Linked DNA regions of Homo sapiens: region 2 is linked to region 1. Evidence: promoter capture Hi-C in 16 types of primary human blood cells and fetal thymus (Javierre and others, 2016). All regions are on one chromosome and are shown on one strand. Each heading gives the region's core, a stretch centred on a gene start or on the middle of the fragment in contact. The rest is flanking DNA. Distances are from core to core; before and after follow the strand shown. Region 1 holds the start of ABHD17C (abhydrolase domain containing 17C, depalmitoylase). Region 2 overlaps ARNT2 (aryl hydrocarbon receptor nuclear translocator 2).

Region 1 (6,337 bases), core at 2,735-5,234:
CGTTCAACAAATACCAATGACTACCTATTATTTTAAGACATTTTGCCAACTGTCAGGAATAGAGAAGACATAGTGTCCCTGCCCTCAGAGATCTTCCAATTTAGTGGAGATACAGTTAAATAACAGATACAGCAACACTGTGATAACTCAAGCAAAGGGGCTGAGTACCAGGTGCACAGGGAACACAAAGGGTCTCCTAATCCAATTAAGATCCAGTCAGGATCCATTGTTCCTAGCACAGGAGAAGGGCAGATACAAAAGACGATGTGAGCAGAAGAGTGGGGCAAAGTCCTGAGTGTGGGGCTTTGGGGCCTGCAGGGCACTGCACCTTACAGTCCTCCTGGGGGAATAATCTAAGTACAGAGATGAAGATGACTCAGAACAAGGCAAGCTCTCCAATCAGTGTCCTGGGGAGTGTGGTTAACTAGGAGGGCAGGAAAGATAAAGATTCCCAAAGAAGACATGGGGGATGGCTGGTGGAAAACAGAGTCTGACCCAGTAACAGAAGAATGGACACATGGGATGGAAGGCATTCCTGCCATGGCACTGACATGAATTAAGCTGTAAAAGAAGAGAGAATAGCATAAGAACTTGCTCCAGGCAAGTAAGAGCAGAAGAACCATACTGAACAGCAAGAGGAAAGTGGTTGAGGGGCTGATTGGCTTCAGAATTAGGTAACTCTTATGTCAGCAGAATAACCAAGACACACAAATGCACCTCCTGAAGAATCTGATAAATATGCTTACCGTGGCAATGGTGCCCTCGCAAGAGTACTAAACTGGTAGTCAAGAGACCTACTGCTGATTTGCCGCCAGTCTATCCTCCTGTCAGATGAGCTGGGTGAACGTGTGCAGTGTCCATACATGAGTTGGGAAATAAATTTAGCAATTCACAACCATCTTTTTTTTTCTTTTTTATAAAAGTGAAATAGGCCAGGCGCGGTGGCTCACGCCTGTAATCCCAGCACTTTGGGAGTCCCAGGTGGGCGGATTATGAGGTCAGGAGGTCGAGACCATCCTGGCTAACACGGTGAAACCCCGTCTCTACTAAAAATACAAAAAATTAGCCGGACGCGGTGGCGGGCGCCTGTAGTCCCAGCTACTCGGGAGGCTGAGGTAGGAGAATGGCGTGAACCCGGGAGGTGGAGCTTACAGTGAGCCAAGATGGCGCCACTGCACTCCAGCCTGGGCGACAGAGCAAGACTCCGTCTCAAAAAAAAAAAAAAAAAAAAAGTGAAATAAAACAACATATTCTGCTATGTGTGCTGCCCATAGAAAAATTACTGTTTTGTGAAGCATTGGCTTCAGGTATGTGGATACAGACGTGTATGTGTGCTTGATCAAAACGTAAAATGTGTTTCTTACTGTGAGGTTACAGTCAAAACAGTTTGAAAAGCACAAGACATGAGGATCTATAAGGTTCCTTCAAATTCTAAGCTTCGCATGCAGCCTTCAAATTCTAACCTTTTTTACAGGTGAATAAATTAACTTAGATATGAGTTCTGGTATAACATTAAATAAATCATGGGCAATCTTTAGACATACCATCAGATAATTCAAAGTTATCCGAAACAATTACCCTTAATTCAACTGATACACTATCAGATAATTCAACATTATCCAAAACAACGCCCCTTAATTCAACTAAATATGACCAAAAAAAAAAAAGTTTCCAGGAAATAACTACACTCCACGTAAGCTGTAACACAGACACACCTGTATATTTGGGGCAAAGGGTGAGCCATGTGAAAGGCTTTCATTGTAATGTGGACATGCACACACAGAAGCAATGTTCTATGGAAACTCTTCAATTAAAAAATCTACTCAAGGTAGGATTTTCATGTTTCAAATTTTAAAGATCTAATGCCAACCTTATTTTTAATACCTTTGCCAACAGCAAATTCTAGCAAGCTATAGACTGTGTGTGACACATACTTTTGAAACCCTTTACTGGAACAGGTGGCTTTTAACTACTTACAGACTCTGACCCAATGCATCTGCATATGATACATTCTCATCTGCCTAAGCCACTTTCGAAAAGCTATAATCCCAATGAGGGCATCCCCTTCAGGACTTCAGGAGGGCATAAACATGCAACATAGAGCAAATATTAAGTACTTCCCTGTTGGACAAGCCATTTTCCCAGACAGGCAAGGAGTCACTTAGGAACATATGCGTGAGTACGAATGAAAAAAAAAAATCATTAACGTTGGTGATGTGCATAAGCAAACAGGTTTTAGATAAAAACTATAGAAGGGTCCATGGCGACAATAATGCCCGGTGTACTTCCTCTGGGGACTCTTTCATCTGAAGAAATCAAATCTCATCATAGACATGGCCTCAGGTTATTTTCACCATCACTGCTATGAGGCAGGTCGGAAAGGTCACAGATACCCAAACTGGAGCACAAACAGGTAACCTGACCTGCACATGTATAAGACTTTTGTCTAATAGTGAATAAAAGTCAGGTTTTTGGTTTGCTTGTTATAAAACAACCAGGTCTAACCCCTAAACCATGCCCCCAGTTTGTGCCTGGCTCACAGATGGCCCACCCTAAACACTTTTCAGTCCTTCTGTGAATGCTAATTTAAGGTCAGAGATTTCCCAGCCCCTGCAAGTTTCAAACTTATCCTGGACTGTTATGGAGGCCGTGTGGAAGGTGCCAGGCCCACAGCTACCAGCTAACTTCCTGCCCCACAGTGCCACTACTTTGCCCCACCAGGAGGCAAACTCCCCGCTCCACCTGACGCTCCAGCTGTTTCCAAGGTTGCCCAGACATTGTCCTGCCCGCACTTTACAACCAGAAAGTCTTTTAGAGGCCATCCTGTCTCGCCCACTGACTTTACAGGGAAGGAAACTGAGTCTAGAAACCCATGTGCCTTGCCCAAGGTCACTTCAGCTCGTACAAACGAAACTCGAACCAAGTTGTTTCTTTCTGCCCGGTACTTAAGCACCCACACTCTGCCACTCGCGGTGACCGGAGCCACAAAAGACCCAGCCGGTGGGCCGGCGACACACAGGCGAGCCAAAGCAGGCAAAATTCTCTGAGTCCGAGCTCTCCAGGAACCTGAAGGCTGGCGCGGTTTTTGGAGAGGGTGGGAGCAAGCCAGGGTGGGACAAGAAAAGCGAATTTACGGCGGCCAAGGGGCTCTCCGCTGGCCCTCAGCCCCGGAGGAGGGGCCCCTCTCCTGGCAGGCCGCCCCAGGGGCCCCAAGAGACCCCCACCCCGCCTCCCCACAGCTGGAAGTCAGGCCTGGCGACCCCGGCAGGCTCACCGGGTGCGCAGCGCCTGCCACGCGGCGTCGATGTCGGCGTAGAGGTTCTTCTCGGAGGGCTTGCCCGAGCTGACGCCGTATCCCGAGTAGTCGTAGGAGAAGATGTTGCAGTTGATGCGGGAGCCGAGGCCAATGTAGAAGCTGCACATCTGGCCCAGGTCCACGGCGTTGCCGTGCGAGAAGAGCAGCGTGTAGCGGCTGGAGGGCGCGCAGCGCACGAACATGCAGCCGAGCCGGTTGTCCCGGGCCGTGCGCGAGAAGAAGACCTCGACGGCGTCCAGCTCGCGCTGCGAGTACTGCCAGTCGGCGCGCTCGCTGAGGTGCAGGCTGCACGCACCGGGCCCCGCGCCCGCGCCCTCCTCGGGCTGCTGCGGTGCCGGCTGGGCCGCGGCGGCGGCGGCGGTAGCCTGGGCCGGGGCCGGGGCGGACGCGCCGGCGCCGCGCTGCTCCGGCGCCAGCACCGTGTAGGTGGGCTCGGGCGGCAGGAAGGCCAGCTTGGCGGCGATGCGGCTCGGGCAGGGCGGGCAGCAGAAGAGCCAGCACAGCTCACCCAGCGAGAAGCCGTTCATCCTGGGGCCTGGCTCGGGCATCGGGACGGCCTGGTGCCCGCCGCCGGCCCGGCTGGCTGGCTGGCTGGCTGGCCCGGGAGGACGGAGGACGGACGCGCGGCGAGGGAGCTGGCAGGCGAGCGCGGAGGGCGGCTGCAGCCCGCCCGCCCGGCGGCAGGAGGAGGCGGAGGCGGAGGAGGGCAGGAGGCGGGGCCGGCCCGGCGGGCGCGGCGCTCGGAGCCCGGGCGGGTCAGCGGCGGCCCCGGAACCCAGGCGAGGCGCGGGCGGCCCGGGCCCGCGCGCGGCACACAAAGCCGGCGGCGGCGTCCATGGCCGGCTCGTGCGCGCCGCCCCCCGCTCCCGTTCCCGCTCCCGCACGCCCGCCGCCGCCGCCGCCGCCGCCGCCACTTCCGGGTTACCGCGCGGCGGCGCCGCCGCTGGGACGCGGCGCAGAGCCGGGCATCGGGGCGGGGCGCTGCGGGCAAGGGCGCGGGCACCTTCCCCGGCCTGGGAAGCACCTTCTCGACCTGCGGCCGACGGGGGCTTCCAGGCGGCTCCGGGGCCCGGAGAAGCTGGGTGCCGGGGCTGGGGGCTCTGCGCCCGGACAGCTGGGCCGATCTGCAGAGGGGACCCTGGAGGGGGTGCATGTGTCCCGGGGTGGACCGCTCCCCTCCCCTCCCCCTGGGATTCCCTCCCCCAAATCCAGGTTTCTCCCGTGGATGGAGGTTCTTGGGAGTCTACTGAAAAGGAAACTAAGGGGTGGACAAGAGTTGGAATGTGCCCGAAATATTTGGCTCTCGTGTGTGCTGCTTTCTGAACTGGCTCAGTACCAAAAGTTCTCAGCACCGTAAGGGGTACCGGGGTTGTGGGATAGGGTGGTCATCAGTGTGTTTCTTATTAGGAGAGGCTGTTTCTGTATAGGTAGCAACAGCGTTTCCTTTCTAAGGGCATGGTTTTACCCTTAGTACATTTCTGTATCTATAAAAGTCAGCTGTTAGAACAGGAGGGTACTGTATTTAGCAACAAACCATGTTGAGGTTGTCATTTCTAATCCCACGTGTGGCAGATTTTCCGGTAGTAAGTATATACTAGGTATCGTTTACAGTGTTTGTGTCTCTAGAGTTGTTTTGGGTCCAGGATTTTTCAGTGGTCTTAGTCATGAACGATTCTTATACTGCTTTAAATCTACTGTAATCTTGGCAGCCACCTTTACATGATTTTTCAAATATAACTCTCGGTGCCTTGAAACTGTGCTCTGGTGCCAGTTTCCACAGAGCCTTCTATACTTCCTTTTTCCCGCCTGATTTGGCAGCTGAAGAATTCCCTTTCAGGAACTGACAGGAGATACCCTTCCTGGACTGCCAGCAGGGCAGCTAGAGACTGGGAGGTTGGCACAATCCCTACGCTGGGTCTGTTGTTTTAACTCACAGATGTCCTGAGAATTTTACCTTTCGTTGTGACTTTCCACAGGACGAATATTTTGAGCACCGTCATCTAAATGAATTGCCGATACTGATTTCATTAACCTTCAGGACCTCGCTTTTAATTTTTTCTTTTTTAAGAGACAGGGTCTTACTGTATTGTCCAGGCTGGACTCCCAACTCCTGGGCTCAAATGACCCTCCGGCCTGCCTCCCAAGTAGCTAGGACTACCGGCACATGCCACCTTGCCCAGCTAGGACCTGGGTTTTAAAAGGCCATTTCTTCACTAAAACAATTTTACTTGTTTTTGAACTATTCAAACTTGATTTTTAAAAACCTGGTAACAAAGCCTGTCCAGATTGCATATTTGAAGTCTGTTTTGAAGGTTTTCACACTTGGTGAAACTCTTCACATAAAGCCCAATTCTAGCTTTGCAGGTTTGCATTTCCTTTTTTTTTTTTTTTTTTTTAAAAAAAGAATTTTTCTGCGAAAATCCTTTAAAAAGAAAAAAAAGCTTTATACAGCTGGGCACAGTGACTCACGCCTGTAATCCCACCACTTTGGGAGGCTGAGGAGGGTGGATCACTTCAAGTCAGAAGTTCAAGACCAGCCTGGCCAACATAATGAAACTCCGTCTCTACTGAAAATACAAAAATTAGCCGGCCATGGTGGCGTGCACCTACAATCCCGGCTACTCAGGAGGCTGAGGCACGAGAATCACTTGAAGCTAGGAGGCAGAGGTTACGGTGAGCCGAGATCATGCCACTGCACTCCAGCCTGGGTGACAGAGTGAGACTATGTCTCAAAAAAATAAAAAGGCTTTCTAACTTGCTACACATTGGTATACTTTGGTCACTTTATTGTATTCAGCATTTATGTATGTAATGTTTTTTGTGCTCACAGCATCCACTGTGTTAGGTGCTACAGCTACCAAGGTGAGTAAGATAGTCCCTGCTCTCAGATACCTTACAGTCTAATTAGGGCATCAGCAGAAGATTCAAAACAGTTTTTATGTGCCTTTAAAAAAAATCAAGTCCTCATAAAAGCTAAGAAGATGGTCTTGCGTCCTGATTCAGTGGTGATATTTCTATGGG
Region 2 (6,337 bases), core at 986-3,485, 250 kb after region 1:
CGCCTACTCTGGACTCAGAAGCCCTGAGTATCTGAGCCCTGCTTGGCCCCTCTGTTATTGACGAAGACAGTGAGCTCTAGGGTGTTAAAAGCATCACTTCAGGCTATAGCAGGCCAGGCTGAGGCTTCCTGGATCTCCAGAGCTGGACCTTTTCAGGAATAAATATTAATTTAAAGAATAAGAAGGTCTATTACTAAATAAGAGTACCTTTCCTGCACATTGTGGCCAAGACATTATTTCTTATAAGCCAGATAATTTTGGAAGCTCGTTAAGGTCATGTTAAGCATCCCTGATTTCAAAGAAACCACACTAAGCAGTCTCTCTTTCCTACTTAACGGAGAGCTCCTAAGCTCAGGCACCCTTTCCCAGACCATTCCATGACTCGACAAATGTTTCAAGTGGCCTCTGTGATTCTGTTTACCGTGGTTGGGAACGACTTCCACAGTGTTAGCTTTTCTTAGCTCAACTTTTACCCAGGGGAAGAAGGGAAGCAGCAATCTACAAAAATATATATAAAAGATGGGTCAGGATACATAAGGAATCTGGGCCCTTCTTAGTGGAGAGAGATGCCTGGTGATGTTGACAGTGCATGGTTGGTGTAGGCTACTGCTCTGTTTCCTTTCAGTAGAACTCAGGGAGTCCTGTGACAGTTGACCCACAGTTACGCCCCAAAACACTGTATGTTTAATAAACACATTTGAAGCTCAACTTGAACTATCCCACTCAAAACTCTTGAAGAAGAATTTTACAATACACAATACAATTTCACAATAAACAAAAGCTTAATTTAGTCATCTTGCTATGTCCACAAAACTTGGGGAATGATTACACTTTTGTTTTGTTTTTTAAACCAAGGTACACATCAAAAAGTCCTCAAAGAAAAAAAAAATCCTCCTCTTAAAGTAATTCTCTCCCCTTTAGACAACTGAGTTTGTGACAGCTAGACAGTATTAAAAGCAATAACCCAACAACTTTATCATCTGCCTGCTTTGATAAAATATTTATATTTTTCTGAAATGGAGGCTAAAACACATTGAGTCCATTATGTCCCCAAACTGAAGGGCAGAATCACTGTTACAGCAAAGACAGATGACAATGAAAGTCACTACTTTCTAAAATAAGTTCCACAGAACAGCAGCCCCTTAAGATTCTCCAAGAAACAGAGTTCCATGGTCAAATAAGTTAAGAAAAAAGCTGTGCACTTACCCCCTTTCTTGGAGATTCCAACATCCACTAAAAACATATTGACAAGTCCTACCTATATAAAGAGGATTGCTTAACTTCGGTTATCCCAGTATATCATAAATATCTCTAATTGTGGAAACTTTAAAAATGGATCACCTGCTCAGCTAATGTTCTAAGCAGCACAAGTTTTGGTTTTTTGTTTTGTTTTGTTTTGTTTTGTTTTTTTTGAGACGGAGTCTCACTCTGTCACCCAGGCTGGAGAGCAGTGGCGTGATCTTGGCTCACTGCAAGCTCCACCTCCCGGGTTCACGCCATTCTCCTGCCTCAGCCTCCCGAGTAGCTGGGACTACAGGCGCCCGCCACCATGCCCGGCTAATTTTTTTTGTATTTTTAGTAGAGATGGGGTTTCACCGTGTTAGCCAGGATGGTCTCCATCTCCTGACCTCATGATCTGCCCACCTCGGCCTCCCAAAGTGCTGGGATTACAGGCGTTAGCCACCGCGCCAGGCCCAAGTTTTGGTATTTTAAAGCCATTACCTCATTCCTGCCTTCGAGTTGAGGAAATTTCAGGCTGGAAGAGATCTTAGCCATTGTTGGTAATCCTAGAAATGTTGTCATCCCTTCCCCGTTCCAATCACCTGAATTTAATTTGGGTAAAACAAAAATGCCGATAGTTTTGGCAATATAAGTTGAAAAAAGTAAAGCTCCCCAAAACCTTGGCTGGTGGGGCAAAGGATGAGGAACACTGAAAACCAAGTCCTTTCTTTCCTCCAACAGATGAAGGGAGCAAGGCAAAGAGAGATTAGATGACCTGCGTGGGTGCCCACAAGTGATCTTTCTTTTTCTTGTCTGATTTCATGTCTAGTTTCTTATTTTCACGTCCTATTTCATTGGCCAGAACTTTCAGAGCAATATTGAGTAAAAATGACCTATCATGAGGTAAAAGAAAGTCACTACCTTGCAGTCAGATATATCTGGTTTCAAATCACAACTCAAACACCTCCCAGCTATGAGTGACGGGGCTACTCTAGGTCAAAGTGTCAGCTGTGAAATGTTCATAATATGTACCTTGAAGGGGCATTTTAAAAATTAAGGACAAGGTATGTGATGAGCCTAACATAGTGCTTGGGAAAAAAAAACACTCAAGCAACAATAATTAAAATGATCATGATTATGCTGATGGTAAGCAATCTTGCTTGAGCCTTGCATTTAACTGGAATGAGCTGCTGGTTTAAGACAGACACTGTTTCTGTTGTCAAGGAATCTGCTCCTATGTCTACTTTAAAAAGTTTATTTAAGGAATGGATGCCTCATTTTATCAAATGCTATTTTTTGTAATTAAGTGTTCTGGATACTAAATAAGCCAAACAGAAAATGCAATCGATGAGACTAACATTGACTTTAAAGATAAAATATTTTCTCTAATATTGATTTTTAGGAGCCACCCTTAATAAATTCAAACAAAAGTGAAAAAACAAGTCTCTCTCCTCTGCAATCTATGTCCGTATCTATAATGTGATCAGCTGTCAGCCTTCCCTGGAAAAGTCTGGCACCCGCTTCCCAAATCTGGCATCTTTTCTCTGTGACTCAAGTCGAAGCAAGCAAAGTTCTTGGGATGTCCATCCAAAGAAGGTGGCTTAGGAAGGTCCCTGTTCAGGTTGGAGGTGACAGTCCCAAAGACAAGGCCTGGTATCAATAGAGCAAAGTTGGCTAAACCTTCAGATGAAGAGCAGCCCTGCAAGCCAGTTGATGATGTGCTCCAGGGTTTCTGAATTTCACTCACCAAGAGAACTGAACACTGCACTGTATAGGGAGGAAATCACACTTTGGATACCTCCAGGGTGGCTGTGCAGCCACCACCATACCCTGCAGCTGTGGGTATTCATGAGTAGAGCCTTTCCAGAGGAGAGCTCAGCAGTCTGTGTCAACAGACATTAGAATATTCATGCACATGTACACCCCTGACACACAGCAAACACACTCCCCACTGTCCTGGACCTAACACAGACATAGCTTCTCCCTTGCTGTGATGGGAGATGAGAGGAAGGGTGTGTGTGTGTGTGTGTGTGTTATATGCACAGAAAAAAGACTAGAAGGCAGATAGAAACACACTAATATGTTAAACTTGGCTATTCCTGTTGTGAGAATTATAGGTGGGTTTTATTTTATCCTAAAAGCTCTTCTTGTTTTTTTGAATATTCTAATTTTCTCCCAATGCATGTGTTAATTTAATGATATGTCAATTGAGTGATCACAAATAGAATAATACTTTTTAAAGGGTTTCATGTGGAAGACACAGGAGAAAGTATATATAACTGGTGAGAACTGGAAGCAATGAATGAATGAGACAGAGACAGAGGAAGGGGAAGCCCTTTTTAAATAGTAAGTGTCCAATAATGGGACGGATTGGCTTAAGAACAATGATAAAATTTTACCTAAACTAAGATTTATGTTGGGTACTGACTGTGTTTCCAGCACTCTGCCATCTTCTTTGCACAAGCTTTACATCCACCCTATAAAGTAAATGGAAATTCATCCCATTTTACAGATTAGGAAACTCGGCAGGGACCGGTCAGCCCTGTACCCTGTAACATGGCTAGTGAAGGGCAGAGCAGGCTCTTACGTGTTTGGCCACCCACTGTGGGGTCCCTGTCCCTTGTGGTGCCCAGGCGGAGGCCAGGTGGCTAGGCAGATCCTTCCCTGGGGTGGCAAGAGATGTGCTAAGGCCACGATTCTCAATCACAGGCCCAGATGAAAGTTGTATGGCACGTAGGACATGTTCATGCTTTGGGGTCACTCCATCTAGCCATGGGGTCCGTGCGCAAGCTATTGAACCTCGCTAAGTTTCAGTCTCCCCCTCTATAAGATCAGGAAAATACTTACATCACACGGTTATTGTAAGTATTAAGGAAAGCCAATTATTTATCATGTCTAGTAGAAGAAATGTTCCTTCTCCTCTGTTACTTTCGCCTAGCACAGAACGTCTTTTCCAAGCAGACATTATACCTGTATGTACGTGTGATCTTTATATAACCCTTGAGCAAATTACTTAGCCTCTCTGTGCCTTGGTTTTCTATCTGCAAAATGGGGATAGCAACGCACCTCCTGGAGTTATGAGGATTAAAGAAGCTAATCGTTGTAAAGCACTTAGAATGATGCCTGGCACAGCGTAAGCACATGTAAGTGTTCAATAAAAATACACACACACAGATGCTAACACCACTTAGAGTCATTTTGCTATGGTAAGGACTTGAGTCACTTTGATAATGTTGCTTTTCTGGTTCTAACTCACAGGAGTGCAAGAGAGATCAGAGGGGCAGAGGGGGCAGAAGGCCCTCTGGACTCCTCAGCACCCCACTCGTAACACGATCCCCCACGTGAGGCTGTGGCCAGAGACAGAAGGAGGAGCTGCAAACCCCGTGAGCCTGAGATGAGGTGCTCCATCTGTTCCGACCTCCAGTGGTCCCTCTACCCAGAGTCCTGTCTCTGCATCAGCTGTCAGGCCCACCCGGATCTCAGGAGGGAGTGCAGACCCCACTCGGGTCTCCCTGTGCGGAGCTGAGTCCTGAGCTGGGAGCCTGCACCCAGTCCATGCTGCACCGGCCTCCTCCATCCTGTCTCCCACCCACCTCCTCTCAGGGCTTCATGCACCAACACACACGTCACACACCACTCACACACACACATCATCACATCAACACACATGCATACCACTCACACACACCACACACCCCCACACACGTCACTCACATCAACACACATACACAACACTCACACACACCACACACATCCCCACTGCTCTCAACACACATACACGACACCTGCACACACCCTACACACTCCACATACACCACTCACATCAACACACAAACACACCACTCACACCACACACCCCCACACCACTCTCGACACATATACACAACACCTGCACACACCCCATATCAACACACATACACATCACTCATACACACCCCACCCCTCCACACCACTCTCAACACACATACACAACACTCACACACCCCACACACCCTGCGTACACCACTCACATCAACACATATACACACCAGTGACACACACCACACACACTCCATACACACCACTCACATCAACATACACAACACTCACACACATCACACACACCACTCACATCAACACACGTACACACCCTCACATACATGCCACACACACATCAGTCACATCGACACACATGCACACTATTCACACACACACGACACACACCATTCACACACAACACATCACATACCACTCACACAACCCACACTCCCCCACCATTCACAGCAACATACATACACACCATTTGCATTCACACCAACACACCACACACACCACTCACATCACTCAACACATACACACCATTCACACACACACCACACATATACCACTCACAACACACATACACACCATTCACATACACACACCATTTGGACACACCACACACACACCACTCACACCACTCACATCAACTCATACAAAGCATTCACACACACCACACACACACCACTCACATCAACACACCTACACACACCACTCACACACACACCACGCACACACATCACACATCATTCACAAACACAACACACATTGCTCATACACCAATCATATACACACACCCCCACACACCACACACAACACAAACCACACATGCACACACCATTCACATCAATAAACACACCATGCATACACCACACACATGCACCACTCACAGAAATCTCACCACACAAACCACTCAAACCAACATACACACCACACACACACCATAAACACACATCACACTACTCATACACATACCACAGACACCTCTCTCACACCACACACACACACACACACACACACACCACGTACACACAAACCACACACACCGCCCACCCCAGACCTGACAGGGAACAACTTCCTCCTCGCTGATGGTAAGCTTCGCCTGAGCGGGGAAGTGTGCCCTCCATTTGTCACAGCCCTGGGACCCCACAGCCCTACGCACCCTTCAGAAGGAAACCCAGGGATCCTGGACAAGTCATCCATCCCCTCTTGTTTCCAGTTTGTCACGGGTAGCTCAAGCAGCGCCTGGCAAGGAACTCATTTGAAATGGGCGTGAAGAACAGGACCCTCACCTCGATTTCCCCATGCAGCTGAGGGT

What was found. The method cuts DNA at HindIII sites, captures the fragments that hold promoters and counts their contacts. A CHiCAGO score of 5 or more calls a contact.
Region 2: a contact is called between a fragment that was not itself captured here and the fragment with the promoter of ABHD17C in region 1, in 1 of 17 cell types (M0 macrophages). The highest score is 5.4, in M0 macrophages.

The regions. Positions count from the first base shown.
Region 1 is chr15:80,692,957-80,699,293 of GRCh38, reverse strand. It overlaps ABHD17C (abhydrolase domain containing 17C, depalmitoylase), which reads right to left and starts at 3,984. Exons shown (of 3, transcript NM_021214.2): 1 at 3,275-3,984. The coding sequence starts at 3,864. RefSeq lists silencers at 3,161-3,220, 3,641-3,690, 3,781-4,200, 4,221-4,330, 4,351-4,510 and 1 more and an enhancer at 3,381-3,450. The HindIII fragment of the contact is 4,321 bases long and covers 1,439-5,759 here.
Region 2 is chr15:80,444,060-80,450,396 of GRCh38, reverse strand. The region is part of intron 1 of ARNT2 (aryl hydrocarbon receptor nuclear translocator 2); the gene reads right to left. Among named protein-coding and RNA genes, the nearest start is that of ARNT2, 43 kb to the right of the region's middle. The HindIII fragment of the contact is 2,904 bases long and covers 784-3,687 here.